Linked DNA regions of Homo sapiens: region 2 is linked to region 1. Evidence: promoter capture Hi-C in human tissues and cell types (Jung and others, 2019). All regions are on one chromosome and are shown on one strand. The core of a region is centred on a gene start or on the middle of the fragment in contact, and the rest is flanking DNA. Distances in the headings are between cores, read along the strand shown. Region 1 holds the start of ADAMTS19 (ADAM metallopeptidase with thrombospondin type 1 motif 19). Region 2 has its middle 3.8 kb from the start of MIR4460.

What was found. Contacts are between HindIII fragments. The study calls those that stand out against the background at their distance.
Region 2: a contact is called between a fragment that was not itself captured here and the fragment with the promoter of ADAMTS19 in region 1, in 1 of the 25 tissues and cell types used here (adrenal gland).

Annotation. Positions count from the first base shown.
Region 1 is chr5:129,458,583-129,464,056 of GRCh38, reverse strand. It overlaps ADAMTS19 (ADAM metallopeptidase with thrombospondin type 1 motif 19), which reads right to left and starts at 3,759. Exons shown (of 23, transcript NM_133638.6): 1 at 3,575-3,759; 2 at 2,300-2,955. The coding sequence starts at 3,665. ADAMTS19-AS1 (ADAMTS19 antisense RNA 1) reads left to right here and starts at 3,368. Exons shown (of 2, transcript NR_125748.1): 1 at 3,368-3,632; 2 at 3,978-4,498. RefSeq lists an enhancer at 3,838-4,800. The HindIII fragment of the contact is 8,605 bases long and covers 1,226-5,474 here.
Region 2 is chr5:129,398,233-129,403,677 of GRCh38, reverse strand. No RefSeq gene overlaps it. Among named protein-coding and RNA genes, the nearest start is that of MIR4460, 3.8 kb to the right of the region's middle. RefSeq lists an enhancer at 4,587-5,445. The HindIII fragment of the contact is 6,025 bases long and covers 867-5,445 here.

The DNA of each region.
Region 1 (5,474 bases), core at 2,510-5,009:
ATCCTCTCCATGTTTTAAAATCCAGTTCAACTTCTTCTGCTTTGGGAAGCATTCCCCACCTCTCCCAAGGGATTTTTACCTTAGCATAACATTTGATTCATCATGCTGGTCTGTCACTGTCTTGTGACTACTTGTGTCATTTCCACTTACAGGTGATATCTTTCTCTTAACTTGTGAGCCCCTAAAAGGCAGAACATTCTATCCCCTAAACAAGGGACCTATAATACATTAAATATCCAATAGAATTTTAATCCCATCATTCAATTTTTTAAATTAAATCATCTAATTCTCTAATTTTACTTATGGAAACTGAAGCCTAAAGAGATAAGGAGCTTGTCAATCATCAGGGAACAAACCTCTTCCAGAGTACAGATAACAGCTCACTCTTTCCTTATCCACCAGCTCATAAGGGAACAGGGCTGGCATGTTAGAGTCTAGAGTAACAAACCCACCCTTCTTGGCTATTTGCTTAACTTTTTTACTGAAAATCTAACTCCTAACACTGGCAATGGCAGTTTTCCTCAATAACAAAGACTTCCCAGTTTAGAACATATACATATGTAGCTAATAGGAACAGTGAGTAAAAGTCCAACATGATAAACAGGGATGTATGTCAAACTCCTATTCAGTCTATGAAAAACCTACTTATAATTCTTTTTTTATAAATACTTTAAGTTCTAGGGTACACGTGCACAACCTGCAGGTTTGTTACATACAAAAAACCTACTTATAATTCTAACTTTGCTTCCTTAAGTATGGAGAGAAGGAATAGGTCATTTGGAAAATCTGACCAAAAGTGCACATTTCAACACAGTGAAATTCTTTATCCCCCATTGCTACTACCACACCAGGAACTTTCTATATGTGATTATTTAATCCCCAGCCAAAAGCTAGTGGACAATGAAATCTCCACAAAATGTTTTCCCCAGTGAAATGTTCAAACATCAGTTCCACATAAAACCTTTTAATAAAAGCTTCTCATGTAATTTTTCCATGCCAATTTTTTTCAATTATGCCTAAAAATGCCCGTATTTGAATATTCATCATTATGAGTACTGTCCAACAGTTTACATCATTTGACTATGGGATCTTGGGTCAGGGGAGGTGGTAGTTTTGGGTGGCTTTGATTGTGCTGATATTTTCTGCTATCCACTGCTGTTGGATTTTCTCCAAATGAGCAGTTTGCTTCCATGCAAGTTCTTGTGGATTTCTCAGTGGCTCACTATGAACAGCAAAATGAAGCCACAAATCACAAGTGCATTTTTGATATTTTATGAGTTTTGTCTTAAACCAATTAATAGTAAAGCCTATGGTGGTGGCAACAACCATAAAGGACATGGTGGTGTTGCACAACAACGTGAATGTACTTAATGCCACGTACCTGTACATCTAGAAACAGTTAAAATAGTAAATTTTATGTTATGCATATTTGACCCCCCCACACACACACACACACAAAGGTCAACTTATAGAAGCTTGTCCCAACCCCTGAATCGTGACAGAGGGAGAAAAATCAAATGATGTTCTACATTGACAGAGCAAATGGCTTTTACTTTCCATCCCAACAGGCCTTTTAACAAGGCTCTCCACCTTGCTCCTTTCCTCCAAAAAGTGGAAAGAAGAAAAGGAACTACTGTCAAATGAAATGTAAATCACAGAACCATAACCCTTTGAACACAGATCGGATTCTAATGTCACCCGTTACTCAACCTCCAGTCTCTCAGTTGAGTCCCTCCCAACTCCTTTCACAAGAACAGTGAACAGGTGTCCAGTATGACTCTGGATGTGTTTAAATTCTAGACAACTGTCAGAGTAATCCCCTATAGAACTGTTCTTTCAACTTTGAAGTAGGTTATGAAAAAGCTCTAAGATAACAGATGAGGAACTGAGAGTGCGGCGCAAACACGAAGGAGATTCATCAGTGAGCCGACTGGTTGTCTTTCGAGTTCCTAAAAGACATCACGTGGAGCGCTTAGTTTGGAAAACTCTGGAGAACAGAAAGAAGTTGAGCCATTGGGAAGAAGTTACGAAAAGGCAGAGTTTCACGCAGTTTTGAAAGACACATAACCATCTGGAAGGAGAAGGCCATTTATCCACCCAATTAAACTTCCGATTTACACAACTGCCCTGGAGATGTTCCATGGGAGGCAAACGATGTAGACACCTGGGGGTGCAGTCTAGGGCCAAGCTCAAAAGGAGCACACTGAAAGGGGAGAAGGTGCATGCAAATCATCCTGACCTATGGGCAAGGAGAGGAGCAGCAGGGGAAAATGGAGAGCTAGGGAAAGAAGGCGCTTACCAGGCCACCTCCACAGGTGCTGAAAGAAGCCAGCGAGCCAGGGTGCCGCAGCACAGCTCCGGTGTAGAAGCAGCCTGCGTCTGGTGGCGCGGGAGGTTGCGGGGCGGATGCTGCCCCCGTGGGGCCGGGGCCGGGATTTGGCCGCTGTTCCACTGCGAAGCGCGGCGCCAGGAAGCGGCCGTCTCTCCGGAGCAGCAGGTACAGGTCCCGAGAGAAGGCCGGGATCCGCAGCAACACTTCGTCGCCATCCGGCTCGGCATGCTGGGCCGGGGGCGGGGACGGGGGCGGCTGCGGGGGAGGCGGCGGCTGCCACGAGGCCGGGGCGCCCGGGGACAAGGCGGCAGCCCCGCTGGATCCCCGCGGCAGCTCCTGCGACTCGAGCTCCTCGTCCTCCTCACCCTCCGACGGCGGCGGGGGCCGGAGCCGGGACTCTGATCGGCCCTCCACGGGCTCCTCCAAAGGCACCGGAGCCACAGAGCGCACCTCGCGTGAGCTGCCGGCAGCCTGCGCCCGGGCGCTTCCGCCGCCCCCAACGCCGCGCACCCAGCCCGGGTCCGCGCTGCCCCCGCTGCCGCCAGCCGGGTCCACCGGCTCCCGGCGCCAGAGCGCAGGAAACACGACTTCCCACTCCTCGCGGTCGGGGGCGAACTGCAGCTCTGCGGGCGGGGCAGACAGAAGTGCGGGGCTTAAAGTGCCGCGGTTCCAGTAGCACAAACATTTCCAAGCTCACAGTCCATAGATACAGGGCGCTCGCGTTGAATGCAATGGAGACCACCCGTCTAGACCCTGAAACTCTGCAACCCCAGAAGCCTTGCGATCAGATTACAGACCCCAGCATTTTCAGAGTAAAAGTACGATTATATTAGGGGCGGGGGAGGGGGAATCAAAGTTTGGTGACCGCACTTCATTGTTGAAAAGAAAACCGATGCAAAGACTCCAGCACGAGTAAACGATTTCTGAAGTGTATGCTAGAGCAGAGCGTTGCTATCAACTTAGGTACGTTCTAATTTTCCTCCAGGTGCTGTAAACGTACCTTTGCAAATATTATTGCTCTAATTAGAAGGAAACTATTCCACATACGGTTAAAACGAGGCCGGCAGAAGTGTGCTTCATTTCCGAACTTGACCCCTTAACCTGCACCTCAAGCTCATTTTTATTGCTACCCACTGAGCCCTGCTCTCCACGCACCGGTTGCACCAGCCCTGCCGACCCGTACGTTCGCGGTCTCCGCTGGGATGGCTGGAAAGGAAGCGAGAAAGTCACGGAAGAACTTACCTGAAACGATCCCATTCGACAGGAACCCCAGCTGGTAAAGGAGGCAGCAGCAGCAGATGTGAGTCAGGCGCATCTCGCGGTTCTTCCCCATACTGCGCTCCCGCGGCCGCGGCTTCTCGCCCGGCGCACGCCTCCAGCGCGATCCACTCCGGGGCGCAGCGGCCTCCCCGGAGCGCTAGGAGGCCGGGCGGCGAATTTGCCCAGGCCCTTTGTCTGCCGGGGGAGGGGGTGTTGGGGTGGGGGGGTAGGCTGTGTGACTCCGGGAGGCCGCCGAAGCCCTGGCGGGGGTGGGGTGGGGTCGGGTTGGGGGAGGAGCGGGGGAGGCAGCCCCGCGGCCCCGCAGCCCTCGAGCTCCCTGGCGAATTAGGAGATGAGTCTATTTTCTGTGTTCTGGACGCTGCAGGAGTTTCCGAGGCCGAGCAGGCTAGTGCTGGAGCCCCACAAGACAGACCCACAGCCAGCCGAGAGCCGGGAGTGCTGCCTCTGGACAGGCAGAGGACTGCCCGGCGCGGGCAGGAGAGCTGTGGTGTCCGAGCCGAGGCTCGCCGCCTGCACCCGCGCGGAACGGGCGGAGGCTGGTGTCACAGTCTCAGCAACTTGGTGTGCCAAGCTCCGCACACTCCTCACGCTCCTTAGGACGCACCGCTGAAGGCTCTCACCCGCAGCGGCGCGGGAGGGAATGAGTAGGGAGATGGGAAGACACGACTAGAGAGGTGGGTTGTAGAGCAGAAAAGAATCAAGCACATCTGACCAGAAAAAGGGACCAAGGGGTGCCCGCCAAGCGTGACTTTGCGGGACAAAGGTCCCAGAACACCGTGCACGTGCTCAAACGCCGGTTGGGATGGGGTGGGGACCCAAAATCCCTCACCTGACTATTGATTGGCCACTCGGGAAGGCCTGATTTGCATCCATCCCCTGCCCCCGTGTGCAGGTAGAGGTGCCTCCCCCTTCCCATCCCACTCCTCAATCCAGCGCCTCTTTTTGTCAAATTCGCACATCACACAAGGCAAAAATTAGTGCAGACTTGACCACAAAACTGAGGCCTCATTTATCAAAGGCCTTTGATTTGTCTTCCCATCTTTTTCGGAATTTTCTAAGCCCGGAGATAATGTAATTCGTCATGGAATATGCTTTAAAGTTTCCCAGGACAGTAGGCACCCTTAGGTTTCAGAGCCTCTTTTCCTTCCTTGTCTTTCTAGCTCCCCATTCATCAGTACTATCAGTTTCTCTCCTTCCCCTACCCCACCCCATTACACACACACACACACACACACACACACACACACACACACGAGTCCTAAAAGGAGTAAGAGTAAGGGAATCAACATTAAACATTATATTCTAAAGATCTCAGACCAGGTGAGATTATTTTGTCTTCTGTACTTTTTACTTGTACATAAAAAAATATGTTTTTGCTGTTTCTGTCCTCTTTGGGGCAATTCAACCCCATATATTTTTTTTTCCTTTGTTGCAATTCTCTTCATGGTACCTACTCCCCTTTCCACAACTCTCCCTCAGCCACATCAAAGCGTTCACATCCGATTTAAGGATGATTGATCTGAACTGCCATTTGCATCCTCTGGACTAGGCCAGACACCTAGAAATGATAATTAATGCAAATCAGTTTTTTTTTTTTTTAATTCCAGAACTGAGGTTGGTTCACCACTTCCTTTGTTATTTTACCTTCTGTTCCTTGTGTCAAAGGTGACTACTATGCCTTTAAGGGAAGCAGACGATCTTATTTCAAAGGAAAGCCATTGTTTGAATTAGCTGAGTCCTATAATACTTTCTTTGAGTTGTCCAGAGTTTAGAAACAAAGGCAAAAACACTCAAGGTGACTTTGTCAAGAGTGATCTGCCTCTAAACGCTGTCTTATAAAATCTCTAATGCTGGAGTAACT
Region 2 (5,445 bases), core at 2,630-5,129, 60 kb after region 1:
TTTCAGAATTTGTTCACCTAAAAATATTTTTTTCACCTTAATTTTTAAAGGCATATTTGCTGTACATCAAATTCTGGTTGGCAGTTGTTTTCTTCAGCACTTTGAAAATATCAGTGAGCTGTCTTGTTTTGTATTGTAGATATAGTACTCAGGTTTTAAATTAACTGTAACATATTAAAATATGAACCCTAGGGTTTTTTTTAAACCTTCCAATTGCTTTACAGTTTTGTCTTTGTTTTTAGCTTTCAGCAGTTACTGATATAATTGTGGATTTTTTTGTATTTATCTGGCTTGTTATCACAGTCTTTTGGAAAATGATTTTATGTCTTTCATCTATTCAAATGTATTTCTGTTCCATTTCTCTTCTGTACTTTAGGATTACAAATACCATTATGTTAAACATTCTTATTCATCCCTTCATATCTTTTACCATTTCTTGTTTATTTTATTTTTGTCTTTTTGTATGATATCTCCCCTTAGTTCTTTCACTGAACAAATTCTCACCTGCTTTTAAAATCCATTGAGACCTCCATTACAACTGTTTTATTTTTCACTGCTAGAATTTCCATTTGTTTTTATAGTTTGTAATTTTCTTCTGGAAATTTCAATCCTGGTTATTATTACTTCACACAAGTAGTATAATTATTCCAAAATTTGTGGCTGATATTTGGAGTCCTTGTAGATCTGTTTCTATGTTTTATTCTTGCTGCTGGCTTTCAGTCATGCTGCCTTAACTCCTTGTGCATCTGGTTATGATTTTGGGTAGTTTAAAAATTTTGTTTGAAATTTGTTTGGAGAAATCATTTGAGAATGAACATGTTATCTTGTTCCCAAGTCTTTTTATTGTGCTTCTGCTAGCTATGCGGGGGCAGTAGAAATCTGGGGTTGCCTCAATCCAATCTGAGGGATTGAGATTAGTTGAACATGAACTCTATTCTCCAGAAGAATCTTTCTATATAGAAATCACTCTTACCCTGGAGTGGGGCTCTTTGGAGTCCCAAACTTAAGTGAAAGTGATTCTATAATTCCTCTCCTTTTGAAGGTCCCTATACTCCAATTATTAGCTTCCTGTCTATGCCAGACTGTAAAAATGCACACTTCATCTCTGAGTTTCTTGGCTTTGCTGTTCAGTAATGGCAAATACTTTTGGGGGGAAACAACCCCAAGTCTCAGGCTTACCTCAGTAGATCTCTATCGTTTCTTCCTCAGATTCTGGTTTAGCAAATGTTAACTATCTTTTCCACTCTCCAGTGTTTTCAGAACACATTATTTTTTCCCCCAGGTTTTCCAGTTATCCTCATGAAAGTTTTGGTCCAAATTACCTAATCTACTTTACTAGGAGTAGAGGGGCTTCCAACAATTTGAATTATTATATCATTTAAATATCACTTGTGATTGCCCCACTTTGAATTTCTGATCCTTAATCAATTTTAAATTTGTTGTCTTATAAAACACACCCTTAATTCCAATGCAAGGTATTAGCACATTAAAAAATCAAATTTCTGTCTTTATTTGCAAAACTGTGATCAAATATAGATGTACTTTTTAATGAAAATTCATTGTATTTTTAATTCACCATCCATAAAATCTGTTAATTGGAAGTGTTCGTGAGGGTCAGCCTAATACAAATGTCTGTTAACATTAATCCATATCTTTCTATACATTAGATGAGTGACTTTGGGCATGTTTTCACTTACGTGTACTTTATTTTTCTCATAGATAATGTATAATAATGATACTTCTCTTACTGTTTAATTGTTAAAATGTAAATATGTTTTCCACAAAGTAAGTAGTCAACAAGTCTTTTTCTTTTTCCAAGACTGGAAGATTAGGGTTTTTTCCTTTCTATAATTATTTGTCCATATTTTTGGATTGTTAGAGGAAGTGATACAAATTTCTACTTGAGGCATCATCAAAATGTGTGTTCAAATTGTTGCCTATCTAAGTGAACCATTAGAGGGAAAAATGTACATGAACATTTTAATCCTGGTTTCAAGCTAATTCTGTCATTATTTTTACATGTTGAAAAATGAAAATGTATGGTATGCACATCAATTGACTAGTTATCTTTATTCTTCTTGGGTTATATCAATATCATCAGTTCCCTAAGGTGTTGCTGCAACTTCCCATTTTTCTCTTTTCTAATCTAACATATATAAACTGCTTTATTAAATCTACCGTTTTCTTGCAGGTTCTCTCTTATTGTATTGAGACATATTTTTCATAGAAGTAAGAAGGAAGCGAAATTTGTGTGTAACAAGTAATCAAACTCTTTTATATTTAGGAGTGAATTTTGGTAATCCATCAGTTATTTTATTTTATTATTATTTTAGAGACGGTGTATTGCTATGTTGCCCAGGCTGGTCTCAAACTCCTCGGCTCAAGTGATCCTCCTGCCTCAGCCTCCTGAGTAGCTGGAACTACAGGCATATACCACTGTGCCCCAGCTAATCCATCATTTCTTAAAGGAACAGAAGCTAGTTACAAAAATGCCTGTGGCTATGAGTGTAATACAGATACATATGTTTATACTTCTAGATTTTAGAAACTTGAATTCAGTACATGGTGATGAGTCTTGGTAGGCACATTTATGAACCCTTTCTTGAATTTGAATGGATCTAATTTTTCACAAGACATTAATATTTACCTAAATTTAAAATAATTAGAAAATATTTCAAAATGCTTATGACTTTGTCATTTCATATTTTTTATTTTAAATCTATAAACCACTTGGAAACATATTCCTAGTTAATGAAATTCTTACCCACTCTTATTAATAAGATTATACATTTGAATGGCAATATAAGCAACAAAAAATGCTTTCTACGACAACTAGTAACACAAAATTAACATATATTTAGTGCTAATTATACACCAGGCACTAACGGCACTTTTACATGTATTATATCACTTGATCCCCGATACAAATCTGACGTATCTGAGTTGTGAGCTGCCAAATGTATAGGCAAATAAACAAATACAGACAACTCCCAGATATAGCTTTTTTGTTTTCTTTTTTAAATCAACTTTCCTGGCTCTCCTCTAGTTTTTTTGTTCGAGTCAGTTATATGCCACCTAGTGATATTATAAAGAAATACAACTTATTTAGTAATATAATACATTTTCCTTTGATGGATACTTTTCCTGTAACACCTTTCCATTCTTTCTCTCCCTTCCCTCCCTTTCTCCCATTTCTTTTTTCACATATGGAAAGTCAGTTAATTATATGGTAGGAATGTAATACTTAACCATTTATGTTTGCTTGCCCCAGGCAACTCTAACATCAGAAGTTTAAGCTACTAATTAACAGATAAAAATCTCAGCTTTATAGTCATAAAGAAAAAGGAAATGAGAAGAAAAGAGGTCAAGGGAAAAATTTAAGTAAATATATTGAATGTCAATCACAGTCAGATATAACACAAAAGAAAAGTACTTTTAATTCAGTGTATTTTTAATCTCACTGAATGTATAATACATAGCATTATATCTTGTGTTACATTTCCTGTCCCTTTAAGAAATCCTAATTATTAAAATTCTTAAGTATAAAAATTTTCTCAAAGGAATAGAAAAACCTTAATTTCTTTTTAAAATGTCATTTGACCAGGCTATTTCAAAAGTTAGCTGCCTTATCTACATCTTCCTTTTTCATGTTTTCAAAAGAGAAAATTTATCTAATTACAGATTGAAAGAAAAAAATGTTATTGTTGTGATGTCCATATAATGTAATGAACCTGCCACGTATATTTCTCTATATGTTCCTTTTTGCCTCTATTTAAAAATGAGTTGATCCTGCTTCGAGCCAGGTCACTTATCACATAAAATAAATGAGGACAAGACTTAAGGCTGTGTATTCAAGGCCTGAAACAAAACTACAGTAGCAGCCTCAGGGTACAAGATCTTGAGTTACTTTCCAAAGGAACAATGTCTTCATTGCATATTACATACAAGTGTTGCATGAGACATCATCTGTGATAGGTTATTTGGGAAAGTGTCTTTGCCACCCAAAATATCCATCTAACATGCTAGCTAGACTCTCAGATTTTTTTCATTTAGAAATTCAGTTTGAAGTGATACAATTAAAAGAGAGTTCACTGTTTAAATGAGCCCAGAAGAAGTAACAGGTAATGCATACATACAAAAAATGAGTGTATATATAAAAAATGAGTGTCTGCCCACCAGCAGCACATCCTTTCCTCAAGGCTCATTTCGTAGCAGGTCCTAGAGTCTGAAATAATATGGGAAGAGGGAGAACATGCCAGAAAAACATATTTGCCTATTTGGTATTTTTCCTCGAATGGCTATAACCTCTTACATACTTAAGAATTTAAGCCTGCAGCAAAGCTTCCAGGCTTCAGGCATGCGCTAGGTGAAGAAAGGACTACAGAAAAAAGCCAGCTTCTGTCTAAAAGCTGAGTGACAGGGGGAAGAATTGGGAGGTGCCAAAGTCATGTGACAGCTCTTTGTGGAGGGCAGGTATGAGGAGAAAGGTAACAGCATCAGACCACATACTATCTGAGGTATGAGTGCTGTTAGCCTCAGATCCTGGCTTTAAATTAATGTAATTAAATTCCTTAGGGCACTGTCCTTAGAATAACAATATATCACAACCTTTGAAAGAAGGAATGCATATAGACCAGGAAGAGAGAAGCAGATCTAAATATCATACTAAAGAAGAAGAAGTATTAACACCAATTTCATGACTGTTCATGTTATTCCATATAAAACCAGTTTCCATACAATTTTTTTAAATCAGGCTCAAGTTGTCTCCATGAAGATGAGCAACAGTTTATGCCAACGATGTAGGTATTTTACAGATGTGTATGAGTTTCAAAAGATGTTCAGCCTCCAAATGGTAAAACATTATGTGCGCTAGTAAAATATGCCACTTTAATCAACAATAGTGAAATGATGAATTTTTTATATATAAATTATATAATAAGGAAATTAAGTTGCTTATCTCGTTTGTGATGTTTCCATAAAATTGAAACTTTTCTAAGTCTATCTCTCTTGCATACACATAAACATCATGCACACATATTTCCTTTTTCATCTTGAATTTCTTCTAAATATGCAGACTTCACAGGCCTGGTCTTGATGCCAAAATGAACCCCTTTCATTTGCTGATTGAGATCTGGCTCAACAGCCAATGTTTCCCGCTGGGTCCTTACAGAGGGTGCATTCACATTTTATCCTAATTTATTCATTATCAAACATCAAACCTTAGGAGGATAAAACAAAAAGCTAGTGAACAATGCAGGGAGAATGTGTTGGTTTGTTTTCATCTTCACTCTCAGATGAAAGAATTCTTCAGTAGCATTGCCTATTCTACCAATACATCATCCAGGTAATTGGGGGGCTTGAGGGGGGAATGACAGGCTGGGCCAAATCAACCTTCTGCATCCACTGGCACACACAATAACCTCCAACATCAAAAGTATCTAATGA